Regions from separate parts of the Homo sapiens genome. Here regions 2 and 3 are each linked to region 1. Evidence: promoter capture Hi-C in 16 types of primary human blood cells and fetal thymus (Javierre and others, 2016). All regions are on one chromosome and are shown on one strand. Each heading gives the region's core, a stretch centred on a gene start or on the middle of the fragment in contact. The rest is flanking DNA. Distances are from core to core; before and after follow the strand shown. Region 1 holds the start of CCDC59 (coiled-coil domain containing 59). Region 2 holds the start of ZDHHC17 (zDHHC palmitoyltransferase 17). Region 3 overlaps TMTC3 (transmembrane O-mannosyltransferase targeting cadherins 3).

Region 1 (3,462 bases), core at 138-2,637:
CAAAGCTACACTGATCTTCAAATAAAGGCTCGTCAATGCTACACTGTTCTTCAAGCAACGGCTGGTGAACTTGTTCTGACAAAGGATGGTCGACTTTTCTTGCTTGCTTCCTATGTCTTTCCTCTTCAGCTAAATAGAGATGTTTCAGATTATCTGGGTATCGATCTGTGAATTGAGATTCCAGTGACGTTTGAGCCTTCTTTTCCTTCCGTAGCAATTTCTTGTAACTTTGCTGTATTTTCAGTTTTCTTCGAAAAGCAAAGCCTTGTCCTACATTGAGGAATATCATCCAAAATTACTTTCAGAGAAAAGAAGTTGAACGAAGAATGGAGCTGTTAATTACAAATGAAAACTTTTTTTACGTCATCACATTCAGATTCTAGTATTATATTTTGCTTTAAAAAATTATTTCAAGCAACAAATTTAAGCTGATGGATTGCATAGTAAGTTGGCCCTTTGCAAAAAGACCAGGCTAACAGTCATGCGGAAATCCAAGTAAGAATCTCAAAGAAAAACTGACCAGTTCAGACTGTTGCACAACTTGAGTTTACAGCTGTATTCACAAATCAAAACAAATTCCTTAGTTCATCTAAAACACTTAATCTGAGCCTTCAATAAATGCTTAAAAAATAGGAAAGAAAATGCCACATCTAGTATCTTGGACAAACTACATGTTTTCGAAAATGTTTCAACACGAAAGAAAAAGACAGTGTATGGTTGTCTGAAAAGCTAGCAATTATCGGAAGACTGAATTTAACATTTATATATTCCAAGTGGGATCTAAGAGACCTTACAGACAGCAATACAAAATGACAAACACAAATTAAAGCGAAGGCTGGAGGGCCTCGGGTATTTGTAATAAGGAAGAATTCGGAGCAGTGTTTCTGGCCCTGTCCTCCTCTCTATCCTTTACCTTACCACATGCGCAAGAGTTCACAGGGTCATAGACTCTCTCTGCTCAGTTTCTCAGGAAAAATATAGGAAAAAAGTTCTGATGAAATACAGGGTTACGTCAGAAAAGACGTTTAAATAATAGCAACACTGCTCCGTCTTCCTATCTAGAGCTCTGCGAAGCTCACAGCTTTAGCGGGCTCAGGAATGAATTCCCTTGCCCCAAGTAGGACCGGGTCTGGTTCCTAAATCCTTCTTCCAAGCTTCAGCGAATCTTATATCCTAAAACTTAGCAAGCCTGAGGATTTGCAAATGGTTGCCTTCTTACATACCCTCGCGAACGCTCCCCACGAAGGCTTGCGGGTGGTTAGGCCGCCATGTCTTCTGTCTCACATTCTTATTCCTGTACCCGACAGTGGAAACCCCTTCACCACGCGCCTCAATACCACCAGGCCGCCACTTCGCGGACCGCCTCACCGGCGCCATTGCAGCCGACTAACTGCGTCATCAGAAGACCACGACGGACGCCCACAAAATACGTCACCAAGCCGAAGCAATCAATCGCTCAGAAGGAATCCGGCTCGGAGCTCTACTGAGCCTGCCTGTGCTAATTTGGGCCGAGCTGGCGCCTCACGGCCATGTTTGCGCCACCTACAGCCTCGGAGGGTGAGCGTCATGGCGGCTTCTTGCCCTCTCCCGGTGACCCCGGACCTGCCCACGCTGCGTGCCAAGTTGCAGGGACTGCTGCAGTTCCTGAGGGATGCCCTGTCCATTTCCAATGCACATACCGTGGATTTCTACACAGAATCCGTGTGGGAGGAGCTGGTCGACTTGCCACCGGAGACAGTGCTGGCTGCGCTGAGGAAGTCAGCGTCGGAGACGGAGGCCCTGCCCTCAGAGACGCGCCCCCTAGTGGAAGCAGAGTGGGAAGCAGGTGGGTGGTGGGGTAGGCGGGGCGGGAAGGGAGGCGGAGGAGAAGGTCCCGGCAGACGAAGCGAGCCCCCTGGTGGAAGCCAGCAGAACCAGGTGCGTGGCGGCGGAGGCGGGGCGGCCCGCTGGGAAACCGAGGAGGGGTCGGATTAGTTGAGGGGTGGGGTGGGGATGTTCTTTGGAATCAGGATCACTCTTTCTTTGGGTGCTTGTGTATGTCCACAATTTAAAGAAAGCAGGAAACAGGGCAGGGGAGTTCCTTCATCTAGTAATTCCATAATAATTGACGCTAGGGAAACTAGGGGAGCAGTGCTCTCACAGGTTTTATAAATGCCAGCATGTGGTGGAAGATTACTCAACAGTTAATAAAGATAATTTCAAGTGGTGGTAATGAAGTAGAAAATAAAAACAGTGTAATGTGGTAGGGATTGTGTAAGGAGGCTGCCTCAATTTAGGAGGTCAGGAACATGAGAAGGCACTAGCTGCAGAGCCACAGGGAGGGGTTGCAGGCGGTGGGAACCGCAGGCTAGGCTTGGCTCTAGCCAGGTGAGGGGCTGCAGGTGCAGGACGGGAGGCAAGCAGAGGCCAGATGGCACAGGCCTTTCTAGGCCTTGGAAGGATTTTGGATTTTAAGTGTGACGGAAACCCTTGGGATTATTTAGGCAACATAGTGACCTAATTCACATTTGAAAAGATAACTGTGAATTATTTGAAGAATAGACTAGGGCAAAAGCTGAAGCTGAGAGGCCAGTTAGGAGACTACCTCAGTAGTACAACAGATGATTGTATCTTGGACTAGGATGGTATTCGGATAGTCACTATTTCATTTAAAAACTATTTTAAAGTACCTAATATGTGTCTTGAATTTTTGTAGGCTCAAGCTTTTCCTACCCTCAAGAAATGTAGATTCTTCTCAGGCAAGCATATTTTGGAAGTAGAATGATGGACACCAACAGGCTTCTGGGATTTTTACTTTCCTTCTAGACTTCCCAAAGTTACCCTTACTAGTGAACTTTATTCATTGAGCATTCTCTGAATGCAAAGCATCACTAGAGGGACCTCTTATAATAGCACTTGGTAAATACTGTTGTTGTTTTTTTAAGTAATTGTTATTGAAAAGTTAGGCACTTCTTCAGTTTGCTCTCATAATAAATATATGGCACTTATGATATGACAATTTTACTTAAACTCCAAAAGAGCAGAGTCTTTGTCTGACTTGTCAACTGATGTATTCCCAGCACTTGGTAAAATACTTGGCATACATTAGATACTGGATGAATATTTGTTGAATGGAGGAATTAATGAGTTACTCATGTTAGTTTTAAATAAATAAAATGAAACTACTCTCAAGTTTAGAGTGTAAGACTTTAATACGTGTTTAGCCTGGTCTCCAGACAATGGTAGAGTCAGATTGTCTTACATATTCTAATAATAATTGGATTATTTGATATTTACTATATACCCTGTAGTGTGCTAAGTGTCTTCATGTGTATTTTCTCTTTTAATCTTTACATCAGCCTTGCAAGATAGGTTCTGTTATTGTCGATTTGTGGAATTATAACTTGAGGAGTTAATTTGCAAGGGATATAGCTGATAATGGAAGATTCTCAAACCTGGGTCATCTGATTTGAAACTTTTTTA
Region 2 (3,052 bases), core at 103-2,602, 5.6 Mb before region 1:
TTTTCCAGTGGCATTCCAAGCTTCCTTTGGAGTGCCCTCCCTCCTGATTTACAAATTGGCCTGACGTTATCGGAGTACAGGCTTTTTCCTGGTGGTTTCTGGCCTAACAGGAGACAGATTAGTAAGTACCAGGATCTCTAATAGGTCAACTTTCATGATCTCTGCTAAATTCTCAGCTGTTTAGACTTACAATTTTTAACAGCTAAAAGGAAAGACAAATGCTATCTAAAACTGTCCCATCAGCCCATTTACAGGGAGCACCTCCCCCATACCGCCCTAAAATCCTTTAAAAAATGGCTTTAGTCATTTTATCTGCCTTGCATTTAAGCGAATTCAGTTTAAGTGGCTTCAGTTCTGAATTCCTGGATTATATCGAAATGTTGCAGATGGCGGTGTGTGGGCTTTGAGCTCGTAAATTTTTTGTGTGGTACTAATTCAAGACGATTGAGAGCAGGTTGGGATCATTTTAAAAAGAGTTCTCGGCAGGGTGTGGTGACTCAAGCCTGTAATCCCAGCACTTTGGGAGGCCGAGGCGGGCGGATCGCTTAAGGTCAGGAGTTCGAGACTAGCCTGGCCAACATGGTGAAAACCCGTCTCTACTAAAAATACAAAAATTAGCCGGGCGTGGTGGCGTGCACCTGTAATTCCAGCTACTCGGGAGGCTGAGGCAGGAGAATCGCTTGAACCGGGAGGCAGAGGTTGCAGTGAGCTGAGATCGCGCCATTGCACTCCCGCCTGGGCGGCAAGAGCAAAACTCTGTCTCATTAAAAAAAAAAAAAAAAAAAAAAAAAAAAAAAAAAGGGTTCTCTAGTAGGAAGTCCCGAGTTGTATCCATGTTTTTCCGGGCGTCCCCCGGAGGGACAGGTTGCGGGTGACCTTTTCAAGTGTGGAGGAAAGGGAAGCTGCTTTTGTCTTCAGGAATGATGCAGGTCTCGACTCAAGCCTGACGGGCCCAAACCTCCCTGGAGCTGGCTGACGACTCTGCCCGAGTTCCTGAAGAGGGGTCCCGGGGGTCCCGGAGCGGAAGTGGGAGCGCGTGGGCGTGGGCTCCTCGGCTGCCTGGGGCTCCAGACTTGTGCTGCGTGCGGCTCCGGAGCTCTGTTCTCGCTCCTGAGCAGCTGCTAGGTTTCCCAAGCGACTGTCTCAACCGCCCGGCCGCCTCCCCCGGGCAGCCAGAGCTTCACATCTACCTCCAGCCGGGACCCGCCCCCGAGCCGCGGGGCCCACGCCCAGAGCCCTCCGCCGTCCCCAGCGCAGTGCAGCAGAGCGCGATCCAGTCTGGGGCCGGGCCGCGCTTCCGCGCACGCGCGGAGAAACCCGCGCCCTCCGAGGGGGGAGGGGACAGAGGGGGCGTCACGGGGGCAGGAGAAGAAGGAGGAGGAGGCCCGCGTCGCCTCCGGCGGGGCTCGCGCTCGCCCCGCGCTCGCCCTCCGCCTCGCCCGAGCCCCGGGAGGGTGAAACGCTTTCTCCCAGCATGCAGCGGGAGGAGGGATTTAACACCAAGATGGCGGACGGCCCGGATGAGTACGATACCGAAGCGGGCTGTGTGCCCCTTCTCCACCCAGAGGTGAGGAACCGTGCTGAGTGGATTCCTTGCCCTGCGGCCCTCCAGCCTTTCTTCCCCGGACTCGCCGAGGGCGGCGGCCGACGTGTGTGGGGTAGTGGGACGTGCCGAAGTTGGGGAGGGTGGGGAGGCGAATCCAGGCCTGAGCGCGGCTGCGAGCGGATAACGGGGGAGGAGATAGCGGGGCGGGCCCGACCGGGGCGGGCTCTGGGACGCAGTCCCTGGCTGTGCCTGGAGGACAGAGGTGGAGGTGTTGATGGTTCTGCTGTGTCGCCGCGCTGCGTTTGAGAGCAGAGGCGGAGGGGCCTGGTGTGGTTTTTGAACCGCAGCTTAGACCCTAGTCTTGCTCCAAGCCTCTTGGGGCCAGGTGGAAGCGCGTCTGGTTTTGATTTCTTTTTCCTTCGCCAGGGTGAATGACGGTATCTATTGCTTCCTTTTAGTCCACTGTGAGGGGACAGTTTCATGGGCATAGTGATGTCCTTCCAGGTAATGCCATGGGTAGCACCTCGGGCACCTTGTGTCGGGCGTCCTTTTTTGAGCATTTGTCCTTAAGCGATTAAGAAGAGAGGTAAAAACTTTTGGGAATAGACTTACACTCACATTAGCTTGTCAAAGTACCGTTTTTCTAGGAGCTAGGGGTGGACAGTGCAACACGTTTCCCATCACAACATGAGTGTCTTCCCATGTAAGTAAACAGTGCCCCGCTCCACAGTCAGTCAGTCTGTGCTTGTTTACCTCCGAGTTTGTAGCTGAGCTAGTGCTAGTTAAGGCTTGGAAGCAATTCTTGATGCATTCTGATTTTTAGTGATCCACAGTGATGTCTGTATGCGGCAGCGGCACAGTTTGCTGAAGAACTCGGGTAGTTTTCATGAGGTTAAAAGATGACAGTCGTGTTGTAGGATGAACAAACATGGAAGTCTCTACCTGGTTACTTTGCAATGGAGTGATTCTGTTTTTTTCTGGATTTGGGTTTGTACCATGCCACTAGTTTTTGTTAAAAAGTGAATAATGACAACCATCCTTTTATGTTGCATGTTAACACTCAACCACCCTCTCATTCGTCACTTTGGTTTATCAAAAACACATGGGACAGTTCCTTCGGAATATATACCTGTGCCAGTCTCAGTAGAAAAGGCTACTCTGGGTTTCTGATAAACAGAACTATACAGTAAGACTAAACACTTGTCTGACCAAAGTGGTAACATTTTCAGAACTGGCATTGTAGACATCTCTTTTGGTTCACTTAGGCCCTAACATACGTCAGGAAATAGACAAAGTAGTTTTCAGATGTTGCCTTGAAAATGTTGCTAAGTGATTTCTATTCATCTGTTCCTGTGAAAGTATTCGTGAAAGTATTTCAAACACTTAAGTGTTTATCCAGTTTATTTTTTTGAGACGGGGTTTCTCCCTGTCCCCCAGGCAGGAGTGCACTGACACGATGACAGCTCACTGCAGCCTCTACCTCCAGGGCTCAAGTGATCCTCTCCC
Region 3 (3,523 bases), core at 669-3,168, 5.8 Mb after region 1:
AATTATTTAATTTATTTTAAATTATTTAATTTAACAATAATTTAACAGCTAATGTATCAAGTCTCCAGGATGTTAGATTCTCTTAAACATTGCAAGTACTCTAAAAATTAGATACATAAGTTGTTCCCAAGTATAACTTTAAAGCACTGAAACCACAGGTTTAATTTACTTTTTTCTTCTATTAATTTTAAACTTTCCTGTGGTTAGAACATTTAACCAAACAACAGTTTGTCACCCCAAGTGAATTGATGTTACCAAGCCAGTGGCCTGAGGTTATTTATGGGAAGAGAGGTTTCTGACCTGTACACAAAACTTGATTTTTACCTACCCAAAGGTAGATATCCTGAGTTGTTTCATTCGGTTTTTCTAAATTACAACATGTATATATAGCTGTCCTATATTGGATCCCATTTCCTGATTTCTGTATCTTTGTTTCTTAATATACTGTTTCATTTTACTAGTGTACCTTTTCTCCTAGTTTCTTGAAAAGGAACATCAGAGGTAAATTTTTTGAGACCTTTAATGACTTAGGTTTTTATTCTACTTTCCCACCTGGAAAACTTAGGTTTATTAATATAGAATTTTAGTTTAGAAATCAATATGCCTCAGAAGTTTGAAGCATTACTCCTTTTTTATTTTGGAAGGGAATTTTTTGTTTTGTTTTGTTTCTAACAGCATTTTGGGTGAAAAAAAAAAGATTTTTGATTCCTGATCCTTACTCTGGAACCTTTTTTATTTCCAGAAGCTTTTAGAATCCTATTTGTTTTCAGTGTTGTAAAGTTTTACAGAATTTTGTGCCCAGTAGAAAAGGGATGGAGGGTCTCAACCTAAAATATATGGACAGACTTTTTTTTACTTAGCCTTTATTTTCAATATGCTGCCTTTTCCCTGTTATCAGAGACCCTATGTTTTAAATAATCCACAGAGGAAACCTCCAGTCTTCTGCCTTGGAATAGGAGAGGTTACTTGGCTTTATCCCGTAAGAGAGGGGGCTGACATAATGTCCCCGTTATCAGGGACATTATCCAGTAAGAGATGGGGCTGAGTTTCAACAATGTGACTAGCTTATGCTTCTTAGAAGTGGATGGCATTTTAGCTGCGCTTTTCTCTGGAGAATTAATATGCAATTACTTACCCACCTACTAAAATTGAACTTACTTGGAATAAATATGTTCCTTATTTTATCTTCATGATTTTTTTTCCAGTTTTTGTCCAGAAGTGCTTATAGAAAAGATGGCTAATATTAACCTAAAAGAAATAACCTTAATAGTAGGTGTGGTTACTGCCTGCTATTGGAACAGCCTCTTTTGTGGTTTTGTTTTTGATGATGTTTCAGCAATACTGGATAACAAAGACTTGCATCCATCTACACCTTTAAAAACTTTATTTCAAAATGACTTCTGGGGAACCCCTATGTCTGAGGTAAGTAATTACTTACATATTACTTGTACATGTCTCAGATTTTGAAATATTCTGGTATTTTATTACTTCTAATTCTTTATCAACATTATCATCACAACAGTTACAGATTTTTAACCCTAAAATGTTTATATGAAACGTAACATGTTTGTAATAAATTGAACAGGAAGCTGAGGATGAGTACTTTAAAGCAGTACTTGGTTATTTCTTTGCCTGTGTACCTTGGCTGCTGCTTTTTTTTTTTTAACTTTTATTTTAGATACAGGGCTACATATGCAGATTTGTCACGTGGGTATATTGCGTTATGCTGATGTTTGGGGTACCAATCTGTCACCCAGACAGCGAGTATAGTACCCAATAGGTAGTTTTGGCTTAACTTCTTAAAAATAATATATATTTATGTGAAAACCAAATGTATAGGGAGAGCAATAGGTGTAATACATGCCTGTTTCTTGCTAATTGACTTTATTTCTCTTTTTTCTGTCTTGTGAGTAAGGCAAAAGAGATGTGATATATTTCAACATTTTAAAATATGGCAACTTCAATATAAATAGATAAGAATTTAAGAGTAAAAATAGTAAGTACACATATTGCCAATTTCTCTTGCAGAAGAAGTGGTTATTACAAATTTTGAATCTTTGTCCTATCTCTTACATAATAGTTATTTAGGTTATATATCGAGAACCCAAAAGTTTAGTTCAATAATTTAATATTTTATTCATCCATATGGTTCATTTTTATGAGGGTATTTTTACTGTTTTGAAGGTCACTGTTAAACTGTTGGGATTAAACCCTTATCAGCTTGATATCATATAGAATGGATTCTAATTTTAGTTATGTCATATATTAACTGTGTGAAATAGGTGAGAATACATCTTTCAGATGGAAAGTAATTTTCCTGATCTGTAAAAGAGGATAATTCCTTTCCAAAATAAAAAAGAGAGTAATGCTTCAAATTTCTGGGGGATATTGATTTCTAAACTAAAATTCTATATTAATAAACCTAAATTTCCCAGGTGGAAAAGTAGAATAAAAACATAAGTCATTTAAGGTCTCAAGTAATAAATGAATTATTTTATCTACACTACCTGGCACATAGATATTGAATAAATTGTTGAAACATAACATGTAACTCTCTGCAATGTTAACAGTATGTTTCTCGGTCATTGTGGCCTCTTTCCCCATTCCCCAAATTTGGAAGCCTCTCAAGGTTAGGGATGGAATCTTTCATTCCTCTGATCACAAGCACATATAATTATTTTGTCTTATTTAGTAAGAAGACTTTATTCGCCTTTTTGTTCTCACCCAATTCTAGCTTTTGAAAAAAAATCTTTTGATAGTAAGGGGGAAAATATGGCCCTATTATACATTATTCTACACAGCTTGTCCTCCTCTATACCTACCTTTGATCTCCAGAGACCCTCAGAACTATGTGTCCATTCCCTCAATTTATGCTAGTATCTGTTATGATTTTAATCATAATGTTGAGGTTTTGAACTGATGGTTTAGCTGGCCATATTAAATGGTCTCATTTTCTAGATTAGGCTATTCTTGTATTGCTACGAAGAAATACCTGAGACAGGGTAATATATAAGAAAAGAGGTTTTATTGGCTCACAGTTCTGTCAGCTGTACAAGAAGCATAGCAGCATCTGCTTCTGGGGAGGCCTCAAGAAGCTTGCAGTCATGGCAGAAGGGGAAGCAGGAGCAGGCACTTCACATAGCAAAAGCAGGAGCAAGAGGAGTACGGTGGGAGGTGCTACACAGTTTTGAACAGCCAGCTCTCTCAAGAACTCATTGTAGCAAATACAGTACCAAGTGGGGTGGTGCTAAACCATTCATAGGAAATCCACCCTAATAATCCAATCATTTCCCACCAGGCCCCACTTCCAATATTGGGGATTACATTTTGATATAAGATTTGGGCAGGGACACACACATATCACATACCATGGTGTCAGTGATCTGTTCAGTGATTTTCTCAGCTTTGCAGATTGAAAATTTGATTTTGTTCAGAAAGCCCGTAAGCAGATGGACTAAGAAAAAGACTCATATGTTCTGACAGAATGGATGAACAAACTAGAATAACAGTTTATTAAGAGTGA

The links. The method cuts DNA at HindIII sites, captures the fragments that hold promoters and counts their contacts. A CHiCAGO score of 5 or more calls a contact.
Region 2: the fragment with the promoter of ZDHHC17 here is called in contact with the fragment with the promoter of CCDC59 in region 1 in 9 of 17 cell types (non-activated CD4 T cells, total B cells, naive CD8 T cells and 6 more); the score reaches 15.7 in non-activated CD4 T cells.
Region 3: a contact is called between a fragment that was not itself captured here and the fragment with the promoter of CCDC59 in region 1, in 3 of 17 cell types (non-activated CD4 T cells, total CD8 T cells and total B cells). The highest score is 11.0, in non-activated CD4 T cells.

What each region holds. Positions count from the first base shown.
Region 1 is chr12:82,357,000-82,360,461 of GRCh38, forward strand. CCDC59 (coiled-coil domain containing 59) reads right to left here and starts at 1,388. Exons shown (of 4, transcript NM_014167.5): 1 at 1,224-1,388; 2 at 1-270. The coding sequence starts at 1,377. It overlaps METTL25 (methyltransferase like 25), which reads left to right and starts at 1,530. Exons shown (of 12, transcript NM_032230.3): 1 at 1,530-1,825. The coding sequence starts at 1,567. RefSeq lists enhancers at 1,197-1,757, 1,268-1,827, 1,758-2,318. The HindIII fragment of the contact is 1,548 bases long and covers 1,153-2,700 here.
Region 2 is chr12:76,762,763-76,765,814 of GRCh38, forward strand. It overlaps ZDHHC17 (zDHHC palmitoyltransferase 17), which reads left to right and starts at 1,353. Exons shown (of 17, transcript NM_015336.4): 1 at 1,353-1,567. The coding sequence starts at 1,475. RefSeq lists enhancers at 851-950, 1,247-1,541, 1,517-2,359, 1,551-1,700 and a silencer at 1,091-1,500. The HindIII fragment of the contact is 3,524 bases long and covers 19-3,052 here.
Region 3 is chr12:88,147,083-88,150,605 of GRCh38, forward strand. It overlaps TMTC3 (transmembrane O-mannosyltransferase targeting cadherins 3), which reads left to right. Exons shown (of 14, transcript NM_181783.4): 2 at 1,206-1,422. The coding sequence starts at 1,234. Among named protein-coding and RNA genes, the nearest start is that of TMTC3, 6.5 kb to the left of the region's middle. The HindIII fragment of the contact is 2,350 bases long and covers 744-3,093 here.